Linked DNA regions of Homo sapiens: region 1 is linked to region 2. The links are contacts of gene promoters, found by promoter capture Hi-C in blood cells and fetal thymus (Javierre and others, 2016). All regions are on one chromosome and are shown on one strand. Each heading gives the region's core, a stretch centred on a gene start or on the middle of the fragment in contact. The rest is flanking DNA. Distances are from core to core; before and after follow the strand shown.

What was found. Contacts are between HindIII fragments. The CHiCAGO score rates a contact against its expected background, and 5 or more counts as called.
Region 1: a fragment that was not itself captured here is called in contact with the fragment with the promoter of MYO1F in region 2 in 3 of 17 cell types (non-activated CD4 T cells, neutrophils and monocytes); the score reaches 6.2 in non-activated CD4 T cells.

Annotation. Positions count from the first base shown.
Region 1 is chr19:8,633,012-8,639,387 of GRCh38, reverse strand. NFILZ (NFIL3 like basic leucine zipper) reads right to left here. Exons shown (of 6, transcript NM_001378600.1): 3 at 3,642-3,738. Among named protein-coding and RNA genes, the nearest start is that of NFILZ, 5.6 kb to the right of the region's middle. The HindIII fragment of the contact is 6,295 bases long and covers 1-6,048 here.
Region 2 is chr19:8,573,615-8,580,159 of GRCh38, reverse strand. It overlaps MYO1F (myosin IF), which reads left to right and starts at 2,718. Exons shown (of 28, transcript NM_012335.4): 1 at 2,718-2,853. The coding sequence starts at 2,851. RefSeq lists silencers at 1,192-1,386, 2,607-2,756, 3,294-3,343 and enhancers at 3,464-3,643, 3,814-3,873, 4,214-4,273. The HindIII fragment of the contact is 24,150 bases long and covers 1-6,545 here.

The DNA.
Region 1 (6,376 bases), core at 1,652-4,151, 59 kb before region 2:
CCAGGCTGGTCGCAAACTTCCAGGCTCAAATGATCCTCCTGCCTCAGCCTCCCAAAGTGCTGGGGTTACAGGTGTGAGCCGCCATGCCTGGCCTGCCATGCCTGTAACTCTTGAGATCTTGCAAGCTCTCCTTCCCCACAACACCCACTGTCACCTCTCTGCCTTTGCCCTCCTTCCTCTCACCCCTTCTATCACTCTGCTCCAACCACATGGACCTCCTCACTGTTCCTTAAACAGCCAAGTAGGCCGGGCTCAGTGGCTGACACCTGCAATCCCACCACTTTGGGAGGCCGAGTCGGGCAGATCACTTGAGGCCAGGAGTTTGAGACCAGCCTGGCCAATGTGGTGAAAGCCTGTCTCTATTACAAATACAAAAAATTAGCTGGGCATGGTGGTGTGCGCCTGTAATCCCAGCTACTCGGAGGCTGAGGCAGGAGGATCCCTTGAACCCGGGAGGCAGAGGTTGCGGTGATCCAAGATTGTGCCACTGCACTCCAGTCTGGGCAACAGAGCGAGATTCCATCTCAAAAAAAAAAAAAAAAACAGCAAAGTAAATTCCTGCTTCAGGGCCTTTGCACTTGCTTTGCCCTCTGCCAGAAAGACTCTCCCCTCCCCTCCATCCCCCTAGAAGCACCTCACTCTCCTCACCTTCCCCGGGAGGTCCCCCCACCTCTAAAGCTGCAGCCTCTTCCCCATGTACACAAACGCAGCCCTACCACCCTGTGACATACTGCAGACTTGACCAACTCTTCATCTTTATTTCTGCCTTCCTGGCCCACCAGGGCAGGCATTTGGGTCTGTTTTGTTCGCCGCTGCAACCCCCAGTGCTTGGAATGGAGCCTGGCACGCAGGAGGTGTTCGTTCCGTAAATATTTGTTGAATGAATGAATCCACACTGAAAGAGGAAACGGGCAGGAGAGAAGTTGGGCAATTCGCCCAAGGCCCCACAGTCCTTAAGTGGCAGAAGCAAGACGGGAGCCCCCACAGTTCAACTGCACAGGCTTCCTAACCACTGTGTGAGGTTTTCCCCCAGGCACATCCCTTTGCACGCCCACAAATGCACACAGCGGCTAACGCACGTGCACACTCATGAACGCACGTGTAAATTCCACCACCAACAGGATAAGTGTGCGCACTTCTAGCATCACACAGCATAGCGTGTGACGCCTGGCTTAGCGTTTACCGCGGAATGGCAATGAGTTCGTTGTAGAATCTAGGGGTGAGTGTGCCTGTGCCCAATTCTTTCCATTTTTCTGTGTGTTGGAAAGAGTTTCTAATGTTGAGAAAATTTGACTTCCCATAGCATCTACTGATCTTTGCTCTATTAAGGTGGCCTGGCAAGGTCATGCTGGCACTAACCTGTGTTGGGGAAAGGTCTATGAAGTCCTTCTCTGTTCTACAAGAGCAAGGGGACTATGTGGAGGCTTTTTGTTTTTCTTTTTCTGTTCTTTTCTTTTTTTTTTTTTTTTTTTTTTGAGACCATCTTTAGTCTTGCTCTTGTCGCCCAGGCTGTAGTACAGTGGCGCAATCTCAGCTCACTGCAATCTCCGCCTCCCTGGTTCAGGTGATTCTCCTGCCTCAGCCTCCCAAGTAGCTGAGATTACAGGCATCTGCCACCATGCCTGGCTAATTTTTTGTATTTTAGTAGAGATGGAGTTTCACTATGTTGGTCAGGCTGGTCTCAAACTCCTGACCTCAGGTGATCCACATGCCTCAGCCTCCCAAAGTGCTGGAATTACAGGCGTGAGCCACTGCACTCGGCCTTTTTTTTTTTTGAGATGGAGTCTCACTCTGTCGCCTAGGCTGGAGAGCAGTGGTGCAATCTCGGGTCACTGCAACCTCCACCTCCCCAGTTCAAGCTATTCTCCTGCCTCAGCCTCCCAAGTAGCTGGGACTACAAGTATGCACCGCCATTCCCTGCTAATTTTTGTATTTTTAGTAGAGAAGGGGCTTCACCATGTTGGTCAGGCTGGTCTCGAACTCCTGACCTCAGGAGTTGCTGAGTTCTATGGTAACTTTGTGTTTAAGGTTTTGTTTTGGTTTGGTTTTGGTTTTTTTTCTATTGCCCAGGCTGGAGTGCAGTGGTGTGATCTCAGCTCACTACAATCTCTGCCTCCTGGATTCAAGTGACTCTCCTGCTTCAGCCTTCTGAGAGCTGAGATTATATGTGTGCGTCATCACACCCGGCTGGAGTGCACAGTCCTAGCTCACTGCAGCCTCGAACTCCTGGGCTCAAGTGATCCTTCTGCCTTGGCCTCTTAAAGTACTGGGACTACAGGTATGAGCCACCACATTCAGCCTTGCCCATTTTTTTAAAAACTAGGCAAGGATTTGGTTAGAATGAAGATTCTGGCCTCCCCTCCAGGCACCCTGTCCTATACCTCACCTGATTCGCACTTCTATATCTTCCCCTTGGCCCCAGCTCTATCCCTGACTGTCCCCCTCCAGTATCCAGGGGACCAGTGTCCTGTCTCTCCATACAAAAGCCTCCATATAGGCCAGGCGCAATGGCTAATGCCTGTAATCCCAAAACTTTGGGAGGCCAAGGTGGGCGGATCACTTGTGGTCAGGAGTTCGAGGCCAGCCTGGGCAAAAGGGTGAAACCTCACCTCTATTAAAAATACAAAAATTAGCCAAGCATGGTGGCTCACGCCTGTAATCCCAGCACTTTGGGAGGCCAAGGCAAGCTGATCACCTGAGGTCGGGAGTTCAAGGCCAGCCTCACCAACATGGTGAAACCCCGTCTCTACTAAAAATAAAAATTAAAAAAAAAAACATAGCTGGGCATGATGGTGCATGCCTGTAATCCTAGCTACTCAGGAGGCTAAGGGAGGAGAATTGCTTGAACCCAGGAGGCAGAGGTTGCGGTGAGCCGAGATGGCGCCATTGAACTCCAGCCTGGGCGACAGAGCAAGACTCTGTTTCAAAAAAAAAAAAAAAAAGATGGAGTCTCGCTGTGTTGCCCAGGCTGGAGTGCAATGGCGCAATCTCGGCTCACTGCAACCTCCGCCTCCCAGGTTCAAGCATTTCTCCTGCCTCAGCCTCCCAAGTAGCTGGGACTACAGGCGTGTGCCACCATGCCCAGTTAATTTTTGTATTTTTAGTAGAGACGGGGTTTCACCATGTTGGTCAGGCTGGTCTCGAACTCCTGACCCCGTGATTCACCCGCCTCGGCCTCCCAAAGTGCTGAGATTACAGGCATGAGCCACCGCGCCCAGCCGAAAATAAAATTTTTTTAAAAGGCTGGTTTTGGCTGGGTGTGGTGGCTCATGCCTGTAATACCAGTACTTTGGGAGGATGAGCCGGGTAGAACACTTGAGGCCAGGAGTTCAACACCAGCCTGGGCAATACGGTGAAACCCCCTCTCTACTAAAAATACAAAAATCAGCTGGGTGTGGTGGTGCGCACCTGTAATTCCAGCTACTCTGGAGGCTGAGACAGGAAAATAGCTTGAGCCCAGGAGGCAGAGGTGGCAATGAGCCAAGACTGCACCATTGCACTCCAGTTTGGGTGACAGAGCAAGACCCTGTCTAATAAATAAAAATAAATAAACAAATAAATAAAGAGAGAAAGAGAAAGTCAGAGACAGAGAGAGAGAATAAGGACTCATAGGTATTCACCGTAGAGAAATGGAAACTTACCCTCACACCAAAACTTGCACATCAACGTCTGGCACATTATTTATCATCGCCTATGAATTTGGGCATTCGTCACCAAAACTGGAAACAACTCACGTGTCTGTCAACAAATGAATGGATGCATGGTGACACATCCATACCAGGGACTCCTCAACAGTAAAAGAAACAAAAAATGCTACACCCAACAACGTGAATAAGCCTCAAATGCATTCTGCTGCCTGGAAGAAGTATGCGCCAAAAGCTGCCTATGGTACGATTCCATTGACATAATATCCTGGGAAAAGGCAGAAATATAGCAACAGAGAGGAAGTCAGCAGGGGCCAGGGGCTGGGACTGAGGGAGAGAAATTGACTCCAGAGGGGCACGCAGGAATTGCAGGAATTGGGAGGGAAAAAGGTATTCTGTATTTCTTTTTTTTTTTTTTTAATTTTTTTTTTTTTGAGATGGAGTCTTGCTCTGTTGCCCAGGCTGAGGTGCAGTGGTATGATCTCGGCTCACTGCAACCTCCGCCTCCCAGGTTCAAGCGATTCTCCTGCCTCAGCCTCCTGAGTAGCTGGGATTACAGGTGCCCACCACCATGCCCGGCTAATTTTTGTATTTTTAGTAGAGACAGAGAGTCACTATGTTGGCCAGGCTGGTCTTGAACTCCTGACCTCAAGTGATCCACCCGCCTCAGCCTCCCAAAGTGCTAGGATTACAAGTGTGAGCCACCAGGCCTGGCCGGTATTCTGTATTTCTATTGAGGTTGTGGTTATAGGGTTGTGTGGTTTGTCAAATATCACAGAATCGTATACTAATATGTATGGGTTTCACTGTCAGTAAATTACACTGGTTTTTTTGTTTTTTTGTTTGTTTGTTTGTTTGTTTGTTTGTTTGTTTGTTTGTGATAGGGTCTTGGCTAAAGTGCAGTGGGGCCATCTTGGCTTGATGCAGCCTCGACTTCCCGGATTCAAGTGATCCTCCCACCTTAGCCTCCCAATTAGCTGGAACTACGAATGCACACCACTATGCCCAGCTAATTTTCTGTTTTGTTTTTTGTAGAGACAAGGTCTCACTGTGTTGCCCAGACTGATCTCCAATGCCTGAGCTCAAGCGATCCGCCCGCCTCAGCCTCCCAAAGTGCTGGGACTATAGGCCTGTGCCACCACACCTGGCCAGTAAATTACACTTTAATTTTTACTTAAATGAAAGGAAAAAACATTACAATAATAAGGCCCAGCATTTTGGTAGGCTGAGGCAAGAGGATTACTTGAGGCCAGGAATTTGAGAGAGATCCCATCTCTACAAAAAATAAAAATTAGCTGGGTGTCACGGCATGCGCCGATAGTTCCAGCTACTCAGGAGGCTGATGTGGGAGAATCATTTGAGCCCAGACATTCAAGGCTGGATTGCACCACTGCAATCCAGCCTGGGCAACAGAGTGAAACCCTGTCTCAAAAAGAAAAAAAAAAGAGGCCAGGCAGGGTGGCTCACGCCTGTAATCCCAACACTTTGGGAGACCAAGGGGGTGGATCACTTGAAGCCAGGGGTTCAAGACCAGCCTGGCCAACATGGTGAAACCCCTTCTCTACCAAAGATACAAAAATCAGCTGGGCATGATAGCACACACCTGTAGTCCCAGCTACTTGGGAGGCTGAGGCAGGAGAATCGCTTGAACCTGGCAGGTGGAGGTTGCAATGAGCCGAGATGGCGCCACCGTACTGCAGCCTGGGTGACAGAGCAAGACTCTATCTCAAAAAAAAAAGGAAACAAGAAAGCAAGCAAGAAAGCAAAAAAGAGAGAGAGAGAAGGAAAGAAGGGAGGGAAGGAAGGAAGGAAGGAAGGAAGGAAGGAAGGAAGGAAGGAAGGAAGGAAGGAAGGAAGGAAGGAAGGGAGAAAAGTTATACTAATGATAACTGAGTAAGAAAGAAAGCTATACTCCCAAATCCACTTCCTCCCCTTCCACAACCTCCTGTCCAGCCTCGACATCTGTCTCTCCCTCCCCAGGACCCTGCTCCCTTGACCAGGAGGCAGGGGGCCTTGTCCCAGGACAAGAGCTGAGTTGGGCATAGCTAAGTTGGTCTTCAGAGGGGGCAGGAAGGGAGGCAGGAAACCATCCTCAGGGCGGCTGGAGGGCTCCTCCCACAGCAGCTGCAGGTGCACTTCCAAGAGCCAGAGGTGGGGGAAGGTAGAGAGAGGGAAAGGAGCTGGCCCTCAGAGCCTAGGCAAGGGTCCAAGGTCAAGGTGTCAAGTTCAAGGTCAAGACACCTTCCCTGTGCAGCCTCAGCTTAGCCGCAGCTTCCCTACCTCACTGCCAATAACACCAACTTTTACTGGAAAAGGGTCCCGATCCAGACCCCAAAAGAGGGTTCTTAGGTCCCCCGCAAGAAAGATTTCAGGGAGAGTCCACGGAGTAAAGTGAAAGCAAGCTTATTAAGGAAGTAAAGGAGGCCGGGCGCGTTGGCTTCCACCTATAATCCCAGCACTTTGGGAGGCCGAGGTGGGTGCATCGCCTTAGGTCAGGAATCCAAGACCAGTCTGGCCAACACGGTAAAACCCCGTCTCGACTGAAAATACAAAAAATTAGCTGGGCATGGTGGTGCACATCTGTAATCTCAATCAGTCAGGAGGCTGAGGCAGGAGAATCCCTTGAACCCAGGAGGCAGAGGGTGCAGTAAGCCAAGATTACACCACTGCACTCCAGCCTGAGTGACAGAGCAAGGCTCTGTCTCAAAAAAAAAAAAAAAAAGGCAGGTGCA
Region 2 (6,545 bases), core at 1,469-3,968:
ACAGCCAAAAGGGGACTTCTTTTTTTTTTTTCCTGAGACGGTCCCTGTCGCCCAGCTATGCCTATCATAGCTCACTGCAGCCTTGATCTCCTGGACTCAAGTGATCCTCCCACTTCCACCTTCTGAATAGCTGGGACTACAGGCGTGCACGACCACACCCAGCTGATTTATTTATTTTTTTTTTTTATTTTTTTTTTTTTTTGAGACGGAGTCTTGCACTGTTGCCCAGGCTGGAGTGCAGTGGCACGATCTCGGCTCACTGCAAGCTCCGCCTCCTGGGTTCATGCCATTCTCGCCTCAGCCTCCCGAGTAGCTGGCACTACAGGCGCCCGCCAACATGCCCAGCTAATTTTTTGTACTTTTTTAGTAGAGACGGGGTTTCACCGTGTTAGCCAGGATGGTCTCGATCTCCTGACCTCGTGATCTGCCCGCCTCGGCCTCCCAGAGTGCTGGGATTACAGGCATGGGCCACCGTGCCCAGCCAGAAGGGGACTTTTAACATTGCAGACAGGAACCCAGGGATTTTAGGAGAAAAGTACAACAGCTTCTCGTGGAAGGGTTTTGCTTTTTTGTTTTTGTTTTTTGAGACAGGGTCTCACTCTGTAGCCCAGGCTGGAGTTCAGTGGCACGATCTCAGCTCACTGCAGCCTTGAACTCCTGGGCTTAAACGATTCTCCTGCCTACCCTGCCAAGTAACTGAGATTATAGGTGCAACAGCACACCTAGCTGATTTTTTAATTTTTTGTAGAGACGAGGTCTTGCTATGTTGCCCAAGCTGGTCTGGAACTCCTGGGCTCAAGCGATCCTCCCACCTCAGCCTCCCAAAGTTCTGGGATTACAGGCATCAGCCACCATGCCTGGCCCTCACAGAGGCTCTTAAAGCCACACGGTCTAGCACCTGCCACCCTGGCCATCACACTCTCCGTCACTCCGCATGCTCCAGCCACACCAGCCTCCCCGAACTTCCTCAATTGCCCTATGGTTTTCCCATATCTGGGCCTTTGCTTGAGCGCTTAGCATGGCCAGGTGCACGCTCCTGCCCCTTTACCTTTTTTAACTCCAGCTTACTCGCCGGTGTCAGCACAAACGTTGCCTCTTCCTAGAAGCCTCCCCTGATGGCCCCCAACAAAGTGGGGTCCTCTTACCCATTCATATTCACTCTTGAGTGCCTGGAGACATTGCTGAGAATTGCATGCCCCAAGCCCGTCAATTCTGCAAACTCGCTCAGGAGATTCCAGCAGAGACGGGCTCCTTCCCAGCTGTGGCCACTAGGGGCGCTGCATATTAACATCTTCAAGGGGGATGCGGGTTTATCGCCCTGGACCAAAGATAGATCTGAACATGGGTCCCCCAGGGTCTCCCAGGGTCGGGTCCTGCCTCGGCCACCTCCTTGCTGGGTGGTGTGGGGAAGTAACAACCTATTAGAACTGCCATTTCCTCACATGTCAAGAGGAGCCTCAGGTGGTTGGCTGGTGTCCCAAAGACCAGCTCATAGGCTGACACGTACCTGGGCCAGGCTCTGCTGGGGGGACCCACGTTCCCATTTTACAATGAGAAAAGGGAGTAACTAAGTCATCCAGGAAGTAGCCAAACTGGAGGCTGTTAAATCTAGATGTGACATCCAAAGTCAGGGACCTTTCAGATGCACCTGCTTCCCAGTACCCTCCACTTCTGCACACAAACACGTGTGACTTCTGAGGGTCATCTAAAGAGGGAGGTTGGGCCAGGCGTGGTGGCTTATGCCTGTAATCCCAGCACTTTGGGAGGCCGAGTTGGGAGGATCACCTGAGGTCAGGAGTTCAAGGCCGGCCTGGCCAACATGGCGAAATTCCGTCTCTACTAAAAATACAAATATTAGCCAGGTGTGGCGGTGGGCACCTGTAATCCCAGCTACTCAGGAGGCTGAGGCAGGAGAATCGCTTGAACCCAGGAGGCGGAGATTAAAGTAAGCTGAGATTGCACCACTGCATTCTAGCCTGGGTGACAGAGCTAGACTCCGTCTCAAAATAATAACAATAATAATAATGAAGGAGGTTGCCCAGGGATGCCCAGAGCAGACACAGCTGAAGAAGGCACCCTTCCCTGTTGTTGTTGTTTTTTTGGTTTTTTTGTTTTTTCTGGTTTGTTTTTAGAGACAGGGTCTCACTCTTTCGCCCAGGCTGGAGTGCAGTGGCGCAATCAGGGCTCACTGAGGCCTCCACCTCCCAGGTTCAAGCAATCCTCCCACCTCAGCCCTCTGAGTAGCTGGGACTGCAGGCTCATGCCACCATGCCCAGCTAATTTTTTTTCTTTTCATTTTTTGTAGAGATGGGGTCATGCTATATAGCCCAGGCTGGTCTCAAACTCCTGGACTCAAGCGATCCTCCAACCTTGGCCCCCCAAAGTATTGGGATTACAGGCGTGAGCCACCTCCCCTGGGCCCCTTCCTTGGTTTTAAAAAGAGACCCGGGAAGCCCAAATGCTTCCTGAATCGCCCTGAAAAGAGGTGGTTCGTCCTGCAGCCAGCTGACCCAAATGTTCCTGCAGCAGCCCTGTCCCCAAGGAGTTGGGGAAGAGGCCTCTGAGGTCCAGTAGTGGCTGCCATCAAGTTCTGACCCCTCCCTTCAGGCTCAGAGCCCCAAACAGCCAGCTCCCCGCCCCCCTCCACACCCAGCTTCCCTCCCCCATGGCCTCGGCCCCTCCCGCCAAAGGAAGTGAGAAGGGGCTGTTGTAAGAGGAACTAAAGCCGGGAGTCCGGTGAACGGGCAGAAGCAGGGCCATGCCCAAGCCACCCCCAAGATCCCCCTGAACCTGCACCTCCATCACGACCCATTCAGGAGCCTCCAGGAGCCCAGACACCAGCCCCCCACCATGGTAAGTCCTTCAAGGGTGGGATCTGGAAGAAGAAAGAGGAGGGACACCAGCCAGGTGGAGGTGTCCTAAAAATGACCATCAGAAATTGGGGTGAGGGGAGGGGCATGGTGGACTTCTGTGGGGGTGGGGTGTCTCTCAGTGCAGCTCAGGTGCCTCCAGCATCCCTTACCAGGGAGCAAGCTCCCATCTGTAGGTGGTGGGGATGCCAGGGTGGTATCCCTGGATCCAAGGATAGGGCAGGACCTGGAAGACAGAAGGTGGCCCAGGGAGAATCACAGAGTCTGCAGGGACAAGGACATAGCCTCCTTTGCTTGCAAATTAAGGGAGCCCTTTCCCAGTCCAGCCCAGTCTCTCGTCTCCCTGTGTAGCCTTGGGCTAGTCACTTCCCCTCTCTTGGCCCCGGTTCCCACAGATGTCATATTTGGAAATCCGTCTAGATGCGGAAGTTGCTCTTCAGGGGTCTTTCAGTTGCAACATTCTCAAGGTCTGTGGGTTCTGCCACAGAGTCCTCGGCTGAGATGGGAAGCTATGTCTAACAAGCGATGGGGTGGATTGACGCCCTCCCTGTGCCGGTGACGGGCGGTATGGCTGCAGCAGAGGCAGGAGAGGCTGAATACGTCCATGCCACCCTTTGGTGGGCATCCCTTATCCCAAGAGGAGGATGGCAGCCAGAGGTGTTGCTGCCTGTCAAGTCTGAGGTCTGTCGATGATAGCAACGGGGAGACTGTCGTGATCATGGCGCTATTCCTAGCAGTATCGTACCACCATAAGACGCAAAGTAAGAGGTGGCCAGGGCTGACCCCACCCCACAGCTCTCTGCTGTGTAGACCACTTCAGCTTTCATTTCTCGTCATTCAGTCAGTGAGGATGAGAGCATGTGGCTGTGACAGCGGCCACTGCAGGATTCTTGGCAGGTACAGCTTACTAGGGTGGAGTCAGGGACATAGGGCAAGAGGCAGAGGTGGTGTTAGTCTGAGAGACAACACCTTCTTTCAGGAAGCCAGTGAGGGCCAGGGACAGTGGCTCATGCCTGTAATCCCAGCATTTTAGGAGGCTGAGACAGGTAGATCACTTGAGGTCAGGTGTTCGAGACCAGCCTGGCCAACGTGGTGAAACCTCGTCTCTACTAAAAAATACAAAAAATTAACTGGGCGTGGTGGCACACGCCTGTAATCCCAGCTACATATGAGGCTGAGGCAAGAGAATAACTTGAACCCAGGAGGCGGAGGGTGCAGTGAGCTGAGATCCTGCCGCTGCACTCCAGCCTGGGTGACAGAGCACACTCCGTCTCAAAAAAGGAAAGCTGATGAGAAATTGGGCATCCCGGAATTCACACCCAAACCATCAGCTGGAGCTCTGAGACTGTTGGGGTGGGAATTCTTCCAAGATGAGAAGCAAGCCAGGGAGGCTCAGGTCCTGGGATGGGCAGGGCTTTGATCAAAAGAACACAGGAAGTGATTTGCTACTTGAAAGAAAGGCAACCCCTCCCCAAGGAAGCCCTCTGAAAATGCTTAGTCAACAGTCGGCTTGGCAGACAAGGTCTGGGAGGGGCCACCCGTATCGCAGAGGATGATAGAAGAGAAAAAAATGACACCCACCTCTGTCTGGGGATGCTGAAATCTTCCTGGAGGAGTGGTGAATGCCAGGAAGATCGCTGAAGGATTCAATGAAACAGTATTTCTGAAGTCCTTTACAACAGGGTCCCCAACCCCCGGGGTCATGGACTGCTATCGGGCCATGGTCTGTCTGTTAGAAACCATGAGCCCTATCGGGTCACAGAGCAGGAGATGAGTGGCAGGCAAGCAAGCCCGAGCTCCACCTCCTCTCAGATTCTCGGGGGCGCCATTAGATTATCACAGGATCGCAAACCCTGTTGTGAACTGCACACACGAGGGATCCAGGTTGCATGCTGCTTATGACAATCTAATGCCCGGCCGGGTGCGGTGGCTCACACCTGTAATCCTAGCACTTTGGGAGGCCGAGGCGGGCAGATCACGAAGTCAAGAGATAGAAACGATCCTGGCCAACGTGGTGAGACCCCGTCTCTCCTAAAAATACAAAAATGAGCTGGGTGTGGTGGCACATGCCTGTCATCCTAGCTACTCGGGAGGCTGAGGCAGGAGAATCGCTTGAACCCGGGAGGCGGAGGTTGCAGTGAGCCAAGATCACACCATTGCACTACAGCCTCGGCGACAGAGCCAGACTCCGTCTCAAAAAAAAAAAAAAAAGAAAAAGAAAATCTAATGCCGTTGGCAGGGTGCAGTGGCTCATGCCTGTAATCTCAACACTTTTGGAGGCCGAGGTGGGCGGATCACCTGAGGTCAAGAGTTCAAGACCAGCCTGGCCAACATGGCAAAACCCTGTCTCTACTAAAAATACAAAAATTAGCCAGTCGTGGTGGTGCGCGCCTGTAACCCCAGCTACCCGGGAACCTGAGATAGGAGAATCACTTGAACCCAGGAGGCAGAGGTCGCAATGAGACGAGATCACGCCACTGCACTCCAGCCTGGGCCACAGAGAGAGGCTCCATCTCAAAAAAAAAAGAAAGAGAGAGAGAAAGAAAGAAAGAAAAAGAAAGAAAGAAAGAGAAAGAAAAAGAAAGAAAGAGAGAAAGAGAAAGGAAGAAAGAAAGAAAGAGAGAAAGAAGAAAGAGAAAGAAAGGAAAGAAAGAAAGAAAGAAAGAAAGAAAGAAAGAAAGAAAGAAAGAAAGAGAGAGAGAGAGAGAGAGAAAGAAAGAAAGAAAGAAAGAAAGAAAGAAAGAAAGAAAGAAAGAAAGGGAAAAAAGAAGAAATAAAGGAAAAGAAAGAAAAGAAAATCTAATGCCCCGCTCCATGGTCCATGGAAAAATTGTCTTCCATTAAACCGGTCTCTGGTGCCAAAAATGTTGGGGACCATTGCTTTACAGAGCACATAACATGCACTTGATCCATGGTAGCTGCCATTAGCTGGGATGTCCATTCATTTCTGGATTCAGCAATGAGGATGGACGGAGGTGACGATTGTGGTAATTGGGGAGGAGTTGCTGCGAGTGGTCATTGCTGGGTTGTTGGTGTCATTGGTTGTGGTGGTGGTTGTGGCTGTTTCTTGTTGCAGGTTCGTGGTGATAATGGCTCTTGCAGGTGGGCTGGTGGTGGTGGCGGTTGGTGTTTAATGTTGTTCGTTGGTGGTGGATTGTTTTCAGCTGGAAATTCTGGAGATGCTTGGTGACCAGTGGAATGATGACCATCGGTGGTTGCTGTTATTTGGAGAGGAAAGGTGTTGGTAGTAGCGTTCATTTGCTGCTGGTAGTTTATTGTTGGTTTCTGGTAAGATGATGATCAGCAATGGTGGTGCTGGTTCAATGTTGGGTTTTGAACAGGATAGGACTGGTGACTGCTGCTTTCTGTGGTTGCTAATGGTAGTTGGTTATGTGTGGTTGTTGATGGCTAGTATTGTTTTTTTGTTTTGTTTTGTTTCTGAGACAGAGTCTCGCTCTGTCACCCCGGCTGGAGTGCAGTGGTGCAATCTCGGCTCACTGCAACCTCCACCTCCTGGCTTCAAGCAATTCTCGTGCCTCAGCCTCCCAAGTAGCTGAGATTACAAGCACCTGCCACCACACCCAGCTAATTTTTGTGCTTTTAGTGGAGACGGGGTTTCGCCATGTTGGCCAGGCTGGTCTCCAACTCCTAACCTCAAGTGATCCACCCGCTTTG